Regions from separate parts of the Homo sapiens genome. Here regions 2 and 3 are each linked to region 1. Evidence: promoter capture Hi-C in 16 types of primary human blood cells and fetal thymus (Javierre and others, 2016). All regions are on one chromosome and are shown on one strand. Each heading gives the region's core, a stretch centred on a gene start or on the middle of the fragment in contact. The rest is flanking DNA. Distances are from core to core; before and after follow the strand shown.

The links. The method cuts DNA at HindIII sites, captures the fragments that hold promoters and counts their contacts. A CHiCAGO score of 5 or more calls a contact.
Region 2: a contact is called between a fragment that was not itself captured here and the fragment with the promoter of MKLN1-AS in region 1, in 6 of 17 cell types (neutrophils, monocytes, total CD8 T cells and 3 more). The highest score is 9.4, in neutrophils.
Region 3: a fragment that was not itself captured here is called in contact with the fragment with the promoter of MKLN1-AS in region 1 in 2 of 17 cell types (neutrophils and total CD8 T cells); the score reaches 7.4 in neutrophils.

What each region holds. Positions count from the first base shown.
Region 1 is chr7:131,325,949-131,329,470 of GRCh38, reverse strand. It overlaps MKLN1-AS (MKLN1 antisense RNA), which reads left to right and starts at 1,692. Exons shown (of 6, transcript NR_125364.1): 1 at 1,692-1,856; 2 at 2,536-2,665. It overlaps MKLN1 (muskelin 1), which reads right to left and starts at 1,595. Exons shown (of 18, transcript NM_013255.5): 1 at 1,474-1,595. The coding sequence starts at 1,571. RefSeq lists enhancers at 677-1,253, 1,260-1,559, 1,254-1,830 and a silencer at 1,610-1,769. The HindIII fragment of the contact is 3,998 bases long and covers 1-3,464 here.
Region 2 is chr7:131,009,418-131,012,939 of GRCh38, reverse strand. All of the region lies in intron 3 of LINC-PINT (long intergenic non-protein coding RNA, p53 induced transcript), which reads left to right. Among named protein-coding and RNA genes, the nearest start is that of LINC00513, 98 kb to the right of the region's middle. RefSeq lists enhancers at 3,338-3,467, 3,498-3,522. The HindIII fragment of the contact is 2,245 bases long and covers 919-3,163 here.
Region 3 is chr7:131,025,837-131,029,358 of GRCh38, reverse strand. All of the region lies in intron 3 of LINC-PINT (long intergenic non-protein coding RNA, p53 induced transcript), which reads left to right. Among named protein-coding and RNA genes, the nearest start is that of LINC-PINT, 82 kb to the left of the region's middle. RefSeq lists an enhancer at 1,780-1,919. The HindIII fragment of the contact is 1,771 bases long and covers 656-2,426 here.

The sequences.
Region 1 (3,522 bases), core at 443-2,942:
CAGAGGTCAAGTACATAGGGCCACATTTCAACTCCAACTACATGGCTGGACTGTTTATCTGGCTCACTCTCAAATTCAAAGTTGGGTTTCAGCATCAATCAGGGATATGGCCATGAATAGGCTACGCAGGCCAGATCAAACCACAGGTCACTTGGCACCCTTCATTGGGCCAGATCCTACTGAATGCCAACCCTTGACCTGGTGAATAAAATGGGAGGCTGGCAGTCATGACAGATTCTTCCAGTTGCAGCTCCATTTTGAGATTCTTCATTGATATAACCAGTGAAATCAAATTTGGATAAATGTGAAGAATTTCTCAAATACAGATGGAAAACTTACTTGAGTATGCTTCACAGATCTAGTCACTTTTTTGTTTAGTAAAATACTCAGTAAAATATATTATTCATTAATTTGTTTCGTTCATAAAATCGTTTCGGTCCTGTGAGATGGTTAGAGGGACAACTAGCACTTTTCTTCAGGATCTGCACAGATCTTAACCCTTTACTAAGCCAGTTCCTCCACTAGCATGTAAAATTGGAGTTAGATCTGCTCCTCCTTTCAAAGATAAGCCAAAGATAAATAAGATACTATGTAAGAGTATTTTCAGCATTTCAGAAGGAATTTGCTAGAGAAAAAAACACCACCAACAAAAACCTAACAATGCAACTGAATTTTTTTAACACCTAAATCAGGGATCAAGACAAAGCCGGTGTTGAAAATCAAATTCATTAAAGCCAGATGTTTCTATGTTTGAGTTTCCGGACTGGGAAACGTGTCTGTGTCCATACAAACCCATCTTCTAATGAGCCGTAATACTGAAATTCTTCGGTAACGTCCCTCCTTCCCACTCCCTATCTTTTTCAGAACTTCCAGGCATTAAAGACAACGTCTGCCAATCCTACAAGTTCTCCCCGCCTGCTAGGATTCAGATGGATTCCACAACTTTTCAGCCTTCCGTGACTTTTAACACTACTCTAGAGCTAATCACTTTTAATGACCCCACTCTGGAATAGACACTCCTCGGCTTTACACTTTGTCCCGGCAGCAATCGACTGAACTGTCCCCCGACGCCGACCACCTCGGACGACCTCAGACATTCGGGGTAGTTTGCCCGCGGGCAGGGCCCCGCCAACTCCGATTCCTGCCCCAGAGCCGTCCGCCCCCCAAGCCCTCCTCAACCTCAACCCCCAAATCCCAAGCGCAGAACCGCTGGGCTTCCGGTTCTCCTGTGCGCGCCCCGGATCCGCCACACACCTCGCCCCTTCTCCCTGGGCTCGCTCTCCGGACCCTAACCCCTTCCCGAGCGAGGCCGAGCAACGCTCTCAGCAGCTGAACTAAGACTCCGGAGGCCGCACGTCCCCCTCAGCAGGCCCCGCCTGGGCCTCTCGGCTCGGCTGCCCTCCATTGCACCCCTGGCCCAACCGTGCTGACGCGGAAGGGTGGGGCAGCACGAGCTCAAGGCCCGGCACTTACTCGGGAAGGTAGGTGGAGGAAAAGGAGCTCCACTTGTGTAGCGCGTAGGGGAGAAGCCGGCACTCGGGCGCCGCAGCGACAGCTCCGCCAGCCGCCATCTTGTCAGCACCGTAGCGGCCGCCACCGACCGCTGGCAGCGAACGGGAGGAGGGGAGGGGGCGTGGCCTGCTCTTAAAGGGGCCGCCGCCCTCCCCGGCCGCCCGCGCTCCCCGCCCCGCATCGTTACCCGAGCCCAGCGCCGGGCCAATGTCCTATCTCAGGGTTTCCCACGTCGCTCGCTCCTTGACGGCTGACCGACACTGGGTCTGAGGTGTAAGCGCTTTCCAGGCCCTTCCCTGGGGCTTGGAGGGGAATGGCGCAAAGGACTTTTCTTACAAGCAGAGGTAAGGAAAAGCCGAGATGATTACGAACAGAAACACGTTGTAGTTATGGAGCAGGAAGGGAAAATAAGAAGACCAAGTTGGAAAAGGGACGCCTGTGCGCTTTTGGAAGCCACCGCCCTCGCCAGTTTATAAGTCCTTTACGGAAACAACACTGAAGGGAGCTGGAGGGCAGTAGCTAATGTGCTGTCCTCCTGGAGTGGTCCTGGTTTTAAATGTCTTGTCCCCGCCTTCCAGAGTCAGATGGAGACAGGAAAAGGAAATGGTCCCGTGTCCTCCTACCCTGTTTGGTTTGCAGTCTGTGATGCCCTTCATTGTAAACATTTCTTGTGAGCCGCATCCTACTAATCTTGTGGCATTGGTTTGCTCGGGAATGACGTTCACCCACAGACCTGAAAAGTCCTTACAGAGTTGGGAAGCTGCGTGTCATCATTTTTTCAGTTGGCAAATCTGCCCACTTTGAACTGACATAATTGTAGCCTAAAAGTTCAGAGAGAGAGTAGTTCAGGAAAAAGACTATTCCTTCTTCTTAGAGGGAACAGCAGCCCTGAAAACTATGTGGACATCATACCAGCTTCTTACAACAAAAGGTGCACTTGGTCTAAATTATCTGGCAGCTCTAGATAACGTTCTCATCAAGTACCTGTTTGTTGTAGTTATGCATATTTATTCCTTGGCTTAGCCACTGCAGTTACCAAAGAGTATGTCGCTTATTGTCTAAGAGGTTGGACTCCTGAAAGCCTGGACAGTGTCATCATCTTCACCTGAAGAGTGGAAAAATTCAAGCAAAGAGTTTCTCAGGAAATGACCAAGTGAGTCAAAACACCTCAATAATTGTATTCTCTTCCCGTTGTAATCATTAACCTGCCGAAATTCCCTCCAGTCCTTTCCTGACTTCCTGTTTCTATAGATGGAAATTTTAATAGTGGGCTCTACTAGGATATCAAATCAAAAAAGCCAGATAGAAAGGCCAGGCCCGGCACGGTGGCTCACACCTGTAATCCCAGCACGTTGGGAGGCTGAGGTGGGTGGATCACCTGAGGTCAGGAGTTCGAAACCAGCGTGGCCAACATGGTGAAACCCCGTCTCTACTAAAAATACAAAAGTTAGCTGCGTGTGGTGACATACACCTATAATCTCAGCTACTTGGGAGGCCGAGGCACAAGAATCACTTGAACCCAGGAGGCAGAGGTTGCAGTGAGCCAAGATCACACCACTGCACTCCAGCCTGGGCAACAGAGTGAAATTCTGTCTCAGAAAAACAAATAAAATACAATAAAATAAAAAATTACATGTGCTTTCTGTGTTGCAGCAGGTTGGAAAAGCATGTGTTCCTTAAGGGAATGCTGTAACTGTAGTGACTTGGGTCGGGAGCTGCCAGAGACAGTGGGAAAGGGCCAGAGAATGTTAGCCCCAGAGATGATATAGTGGTTATCTTTGAAGAAAATAGACACTTTAAAGGGGAGGAATTAACTCACTCCAATTCCTTTGGGCCCCAGATTTTATAATTCCACTTCTTACCTTAATGTAAGTCAAGTCCTTGTTCTTTTCCAGACATAGTTCCTGAGCAATCTTTTTTAAAAACACATGTTAATTAGTTCTTCTTAAGCTTAAATCCTTTTGGTGACTTTCAATACCCTTCTAAACTGTTTAACAGAGGCCCTTCATA
Region 2 (3,522 bases), core at 792-3,291, 320 kb after region 1:
GGGCGGATGCCAGCTCAAATAACTGGCATGCTGTACCAGTGCCTACAGGCTGAATGTTACTCCTCCTGGAAGCTGAAGCCACTGGAGATAGGAGATGAGCCATTACTGGGTTTTGTGGCAGAGCCTGCTGGTTGGCCCCCAGTGTCCATACTCCTGCTTTATATAGCAACCTGAGACCTACTTCATAGCTGGGGCCGTGGCAGCTATATGGTCATGTGACTAAATTCTGGTCAGTGGGAGGTGAGTTACCACGTGGGCCCTTCCAGGAACCTTCCTTAAGGGACAGTGTGTCTTCCTGCTTTGCCGTTTCTTCTCCGTCCCTTTCCCGTTCTGTCTGGAATGTGGAAGCCACCATCTTGAACCGTGAGGTTGAGGTCACACATGGGTGGACTGCCATGCTAACCTTCCTGGGCACTTCCCTGAGAAGGAAACTTCTCTTGTTTAAGCCACTGATATTTTGGGTCTCCTGCCACCCTGAGCCAAACCTAATTCTAATTAATGTAGGTTCCAATCTGCTAGGCAAGTTCAGCTTGATGTTACTTAAAACTTAACCATCCTGTGAGCTGGGTATTTCTGTTTTCCTTTAATGGCTTACGGGACTGGGATTAAAGAAAAATTAAGTAACTTGCCTCAGTACTTCCCAGCCAGCTAGGACAGCATTTGAATCCCTGTCTGACCTTTCTGAATTCCAGTCTCCAAAAGTTTAATCCTTGCTGTAGTGATTAACATGAAACTGAAGGAGGGCATGTGACACATGGTTTTGCAACATTCACGTTTTGGCAGAGCCCCAATTTTGTGGAATTTTTTTTTTTTTTTTTTATAAAGACGTTGGGTTTTTCAGAGAAATTCATTTGTGGCTTTTTGAAAGTGACAAACATGTTAACTGTATTTCAGTCAATAATACTTATCAGAAAAGCTTTTTTTTTGTTTCAAAGAATCCCACGTGGTTCCTCTAATTTCTAGTATTAATTGTAGTTCGCTAATTAGGAGAGTTCTGTGAAAAGAAAATAGTTGGAAGAGAGACTGTGGTTCATTTTCTTTAGTTATATCTACATTGGAGAACATTTCAAGACAATTAGGAATTTTTTTTTTTTTTTTTTTAGAATTCTCTATGCAATAATTCCAAAATGTTACCAATATTTATTACATGATTATGTAGAAATTAGGATGATAGTGGAATTAAGGCCATAAATTGTTCGGATTGTGACATGGGAGCAGCCACTGCAGCCAGTGTTTCTGCAAAGTTTAGTCAGAGGAGAACAGAGACCTAGGATGGCCCCGTGCTGTGCTGCTGGGGCCTGGGAGGCTGGGTGTTGGGGAAGGAAGCTGGCAGCGGATGCCTGGAAGGCCAGTGGGGCCCAGCAGGTCTGGGGAGGTGGCTAAATGGGGCCCAGTGCAAACTAGTAGCTGGCAGCAGAACCTGCAGTGGAGTCGAGGGTCTTGATCTGCAGCCAAGGCTCCTTCTGGTGGGGCCCTGAGTGGCCCTTCAAGTCCATTCATTTTTGTCCTCAGAGTGGAACACTTAATTGGCCACAAGCACAGCAAACTCCCAGTTGTTCCCGGGAACACAAGATCTGCAGGATTTGCCCTATGAAAAAGGATGCTGTGGCAACTAAGTTTGGGAAAATGCTCTGTTGTAATACCTCTCCTAGCAACTCACATGCCCTCTTAGCACTGTAAAAGTCTAGGATGTTGAGAAATTTGTTTAACTTTATTTAACCCAGTTTCTGAAACTGACTTAAACATGGAAATCAAATCTTTTTTTTTTTAATGTGATGACCCGTGGAACTACTACGTGCATTTTCTGACAAGCAGTTAACAGTGCTCTCGGAAATAGTTGTGTGAGTAGGTTGAGTTCCTGAGAAGACGCTAGATTTGAATCTGAGAGTCTGGGACTTTTCTTGCTGTCCTACTTGCTTTTATTTGCCAATCTATATTGTCTACACTTGAGTGTGCTTGCTCATACGTATTTCACAGAAGCAAAACTTTGATACTTGAGAGGCCCTTTGAGGTCATCTAGTTCTGCCTTCTCATTTGCTGGTTGAAGAAACTAAGGAAGGTTAAGTCACTTGCCAGAGGCCAGTAAGTGAGTATGCTGGAGCCATTCAGTGTGCCATTAGTCAATCTGAAGTGGAAATTACTTGAGTTAGTTCCTTACTTTCAAGACTTTCATACTGATATCTTGAGATTAGGATGGGATAAGAATGAAAGCATTGCTGTTGGATTTCCTGCCAAGGTTTGGGATGGGTAAAATGAGCAAAAGAAAGTGCCCTGGGTATAGATGGTGCTTAATAATAGGACTGCTGCAGAGGAAAGCAAGAATCCAGATCAAGACTGCCCCCCAAAATTAACTTATTTGTGTGTCTAAGAATGACTTAAAATAGGCTCCTATTGCAAAAGAATGTAGGAAGTGCGGTGGTGCAATCACGGCTCACTGTAACCTCGACCTCCCAGGTTCAAGCGATCCTCCCATCTTAGACTCCCAGGTTCATTCATTTTTGTCCTCAGAGTGGAACACTTAATTGGCCACAAGCACAGCAAATTCCCACAGGTGTGCACCACCACGACCGCCTAATTTTTTTTATTGGTAGCGACAGGGTCTCTCTGTGTTGTTCAGGCTGATCTCCAAGTCCTGGACTCAAGCTGTCCTTCTGCCTCGGCCTCCCAAAGTGTTGGGATTACAAGCATGAGCCACTGCGCCCAGCTGCTTCTGAGTGGCTCCTAAGCAATGAACTGATGAACAACTAAACAGATGACATTGTAGCTATTGCCACATTTCATAGCATGGCGACTACCTTGAGCCTGTCAGTGCTCATTAGCTGCAGGAGGTAACGCTTGTTTGTTTTTCATAGAGTTAAAGGTATGAAAGCATGTTTTTTGGAACTTTCTGCAAGGCCCATGTTATTGACGTCCTTAAGATCCAAATTATTTTGCATTAACTTAGGTTTTTTTCTCTTTCTTGGTGAAGTTAGTAGACCCTTGCTTATTGATTGGTATATGAAATTGGATCATTTTATTGTTGTGAGAGGTTCAGTTTTATTAAATATCAGAGTATCACCTTTCATACATTTTTTGGAGCTAATTTTGAGTGTTTTTCTTGTATTTTATGAAATACTATCTATAGTCATCTAACGAAACAATGCTGTTTTTCTGTTACAAAGCTTTCTGTTCACGTGTCTACATTTGAAGTTACTGCATTCAGAATGAAAGCCATACATCTGACCTCACAATGTAAGGATATTCAGTTTTCTTCCTGATAGCCTAGAAGAAGGAAAAGAATCACAAGGTTGTAGCATTGCCCTGTTTCTGTTAGACAAGAGAAGTCCTCTAATGGCAAACCCTTGATGGTGTGCAGTTTCCAAAGTCTGGTCCCCGTTGGAGCCTCTCACCTCCCATAGAGTTAAAGAGAGATTTGCCTCAGCAACTGGACCATAGCCATCAATGTCTATTGAAACTCCAAGAATAAGTTTAAATTAAACCAAACATGCAGAAGATGAGAAAATAAGTCTTATTTCTAAAAAT
Region 3 (3,522 bases), core at 292-2,791, 300 kb after region 1:
AGAAATAAAAAGGCCCTGTGCTGTCCTCAGTGAGCTTCCACTCTGGTGAGATAAATGCAGTGCAGTACAGTAACAGCTCTGATACTGAAGCATCTGGAAGGACTTGGGTCCAGCCTCTTGGCAAGTTCTCCTGGAGGAACTAACATTTGACCTATGATTGACATGGACTTTGGAGATGAATAGAGGTTAACCAGAGAAGATGGGAGTTGCCATTGGGGGGTTGGGGCAGAGAGTGAGGGAAAGTGTCAGCCCTGGTGGGTGCTACCTGGAGGAGGTTGCTGAGTATTGGAAGGCCCAAGGAGGCCAGAGACCAAAAAGTGTCCTGGGGACTGCAGGGTAAAAGGACCTGCTTTAGGTTAGGTAGCATTTGTTAAAACTTTTCGGACAGTTTAATTTTGAGCATGTGCCAACAGTTTGTTTTAGCTTTGCAATGCAAGGAGAGAGTCCTGCAGTAGGCACATTCAATGATTCGCTCTTGGTAGGGACATTAAGGGAAGAAAGTGATTAAATATCATCATTGAAACGAATGTCTGGTTAAAAACCTCTACACTCTGATAGTTGACAGTCAGCCGGGTAGATGGTAATGAGTTGCCCAGAGCAAGTCTTAATTTCCTTAAAGTTCATTTAGGAAATTGCATTAGAAAAAAAGCAAGCTTTTTTTTTTTTTTTTCCCTGGAATGCTGTTCATTTCTTCCTAGTAGGATACTGTGAATTTTCTAGCAGACCACTTGGTTCTATTCCAGACCAGGTACGGAACAGTTTTTCTTTGACAATTTTGAGATTACAGTGGAATGCAATCAAGTTTTTCAAGGACCTACCTGGTGAAGAGCTTTCTAAACTAAGCTGAGAGGAACTTGGGTTTTCATCCTGAGGGCAGTGTGGAAGCCAGGGAGGGAATTCATTTAAGTGGAGGAAAATCTCGACCATCCTTGTAGGGAGTGGATTAGCTGCAGTGTGAGGTTGGAGCAGTGGGAATAGTAGTTGGCAGAAAAGTTTAGTTATCCTGGGGAGAAATGATGAGGGCTTTGAGTTTTTTTGTTTTTTGTTTTTTGTCTTTTTTTTGAGATGGAGTCTTGCTCTGTTGCCTAGGCTTGATTGAGTGCAGTGGCACAATCTCGGCTCACTGCAACCTCCGCCTCCTGGGTTCAAGCAATTCTCCTGCCTCAGCCTCCCAAATAGCTGGGATTACAGGCGCATCCCACCATGCCCAGCTAATTTTTGTATTTTTAGTAGAGACAGTATTTCACCATGTTAGCCAGGCTGGTCTCAAAGTCCTGACCTCAAGTGATCCACCTGCCTTGGCCTCTCAAAGTGCTGGGAATACAGGCAAGAGCCACACCGTGCCCAGCCTGAGAGCCTTGAGTTCTGATCTGTCTTTTCCTCTCCTACTCAAACTCCTCTACCCCGAGGCAGAAGCATAGCTGGGGGGATGGAGGTGGAAATTGGTTGTTGCTTTTCCTCCAGAAGAGTTGGTTCAAAATTTTTAAATTTAAAGTAAATGATGGTAAGATCATGATGCAAGGATGTTAGAGGAAGCAGCCAGACTTTGAGATCAGGGCTGAGAGAAAGTAGTCAAAGGCCTTCTGCTGAGTGTACTCTGCCTCCAGCCACTGAGCCCACTTGCCCCATCTCTGTCTTTCCCGGGCCTGCTCACGTCTCTAGCCTCAGGCACTGCTTCAGAACCACAGTACCATCTGGCCTGGGTGTTCTGGCTGTTCTCAGTATTTCTGCTCTCATTTGCTGGAATTATGCAACACTCGGTCCTTCCTCCGAGGGCCGCCAGATGAGCCTACTTCAGTGCATCTGCTGTGGTTAAAACAGAATCTTCTGAGATGCGTTTATGCTAAGTTGCATACATATTTGTGTATGGTGATCAGCCCTGTTTACTTGGCATACAGCAAAATAGATCTATGTTTTCTTGCCACTGTTCAGTGATGATGTCATGTCATTCTGGGCAGAGGTAGAGCCAGATTGTAAGAAAGGACAGGGAACCAGAGCTGGGGGCGGAGCTGGGGGCGGAGCTAGGGGTGATTTCTGCAGTGATTGGGGGGTTGCACCCCCTCTGACATTATTTTGCTTTGGTGTCTCCATGGTCTGCTTTCCCAGGTTCTTCTCTATTGTCTTTCATTATAATGTTTAATCACTACCATGTTAACATACTGCCATAAAATAACACTCCACAATTACCTGGTAACAGATAGTATGGGTATATTTGAAGACATGCATTTCTCTTCTGAATTTGCTGTGAGTAGGGACTTGGCCTTTTTAACTTTTATTTCCCTAAGAAACCTGTATTCAGAATAAATAATTATTCACCTCTTATGTTTTTTTTCGCATGTCATCCAGGTTGCAAAAATATCTGGCTTTAATAATTCCGGAGGACTTAGTTTTTGGGGAGCAAAGGTAGTGAGTCAAACCTGCAAGCTTAGAAAGGAGAATTCATTTGAGTTTCATCATTCGGTCTGGAGGTTTCCTAGGCAACCACTTATGTAGTAATTAAAAGATGAGGAACTAAAAAGGTATGTGCTCGGCAATTTTAATCCTCAAATGCAATCCTTGTCAGATTGAGATCACAGAAACAACAACTTAAAATAAGTAAATTAAAAAGGCCAACATTTAATTAAAGGACACACACTGTTATTAAGGGGGGTGTGTGTGTGCGTGTGTGTGTGTATGTGTGTGTGTTGCTTTATCTTTTTAATGCTCTGTCTTGGAAGGGAATGTTCATATATATATGTATATATTTTATACTCACCTATTTGGGAAAGCAGAAGTGAGGTTATCGCTTCAAGTGACTGCTTTAGCAGTGAGGTTGGTTATTATTGGTTCACGTGTTTGTATCTGAATGTGTTACCATCAGTAGAATCTCCAGCATGTGGAGAAGAGAGCTTATTAGTCATGTTTCTTTTTTCAGTGTTCATGGGGGAGTTTATCCAGATGTTTTACTTGTTTCAGTCTACCTTAGATTGTGCTGAAATGTCCTCTTCTGTGGCTCAGGAGAAAGCGTAGAAAGGCCATTCATGAATAGAAATGAGAGACCCTTTTAGCAAGTAGAAACAACCTCAGTTTGCTAAAGGTTTTCCTCTTAACTCTTCACACTCACCCTTTTTATATAGGTTTCTACTCAGGTGACCTGAAGGATATGAGAAACATTTTTCTTCCTCTGTGAAACACTACCACTCCCAGACTTTAACACAGACTTTTCATTAAATTCCATTTTAACATTTTAATGAAAAAGGTGGCTTTTTTTTTTTCATGTGCCAGTGAAAGAGGAAAGTTCTGCTAGTTATGTGAGACTCACTTTCTTTTTTTTTGAGATGGAGATTCGCTCTTATTGCCCAGGCTGGAGTGCAGTGGCGCCATCTCAGCTCGCTGCAACCTCTGCTTCCTGGGTTCAAGCGATTCTCCTTCCTAAGCCTCCCGAGTAGCTGGGATTATAGGCACGCGTCACCACGCCCGGCTAATTTTGTACTTTTAGTAGAGACAGGGTTTCTCCACGTTAGTCAGGCTGGTCTCGAACTC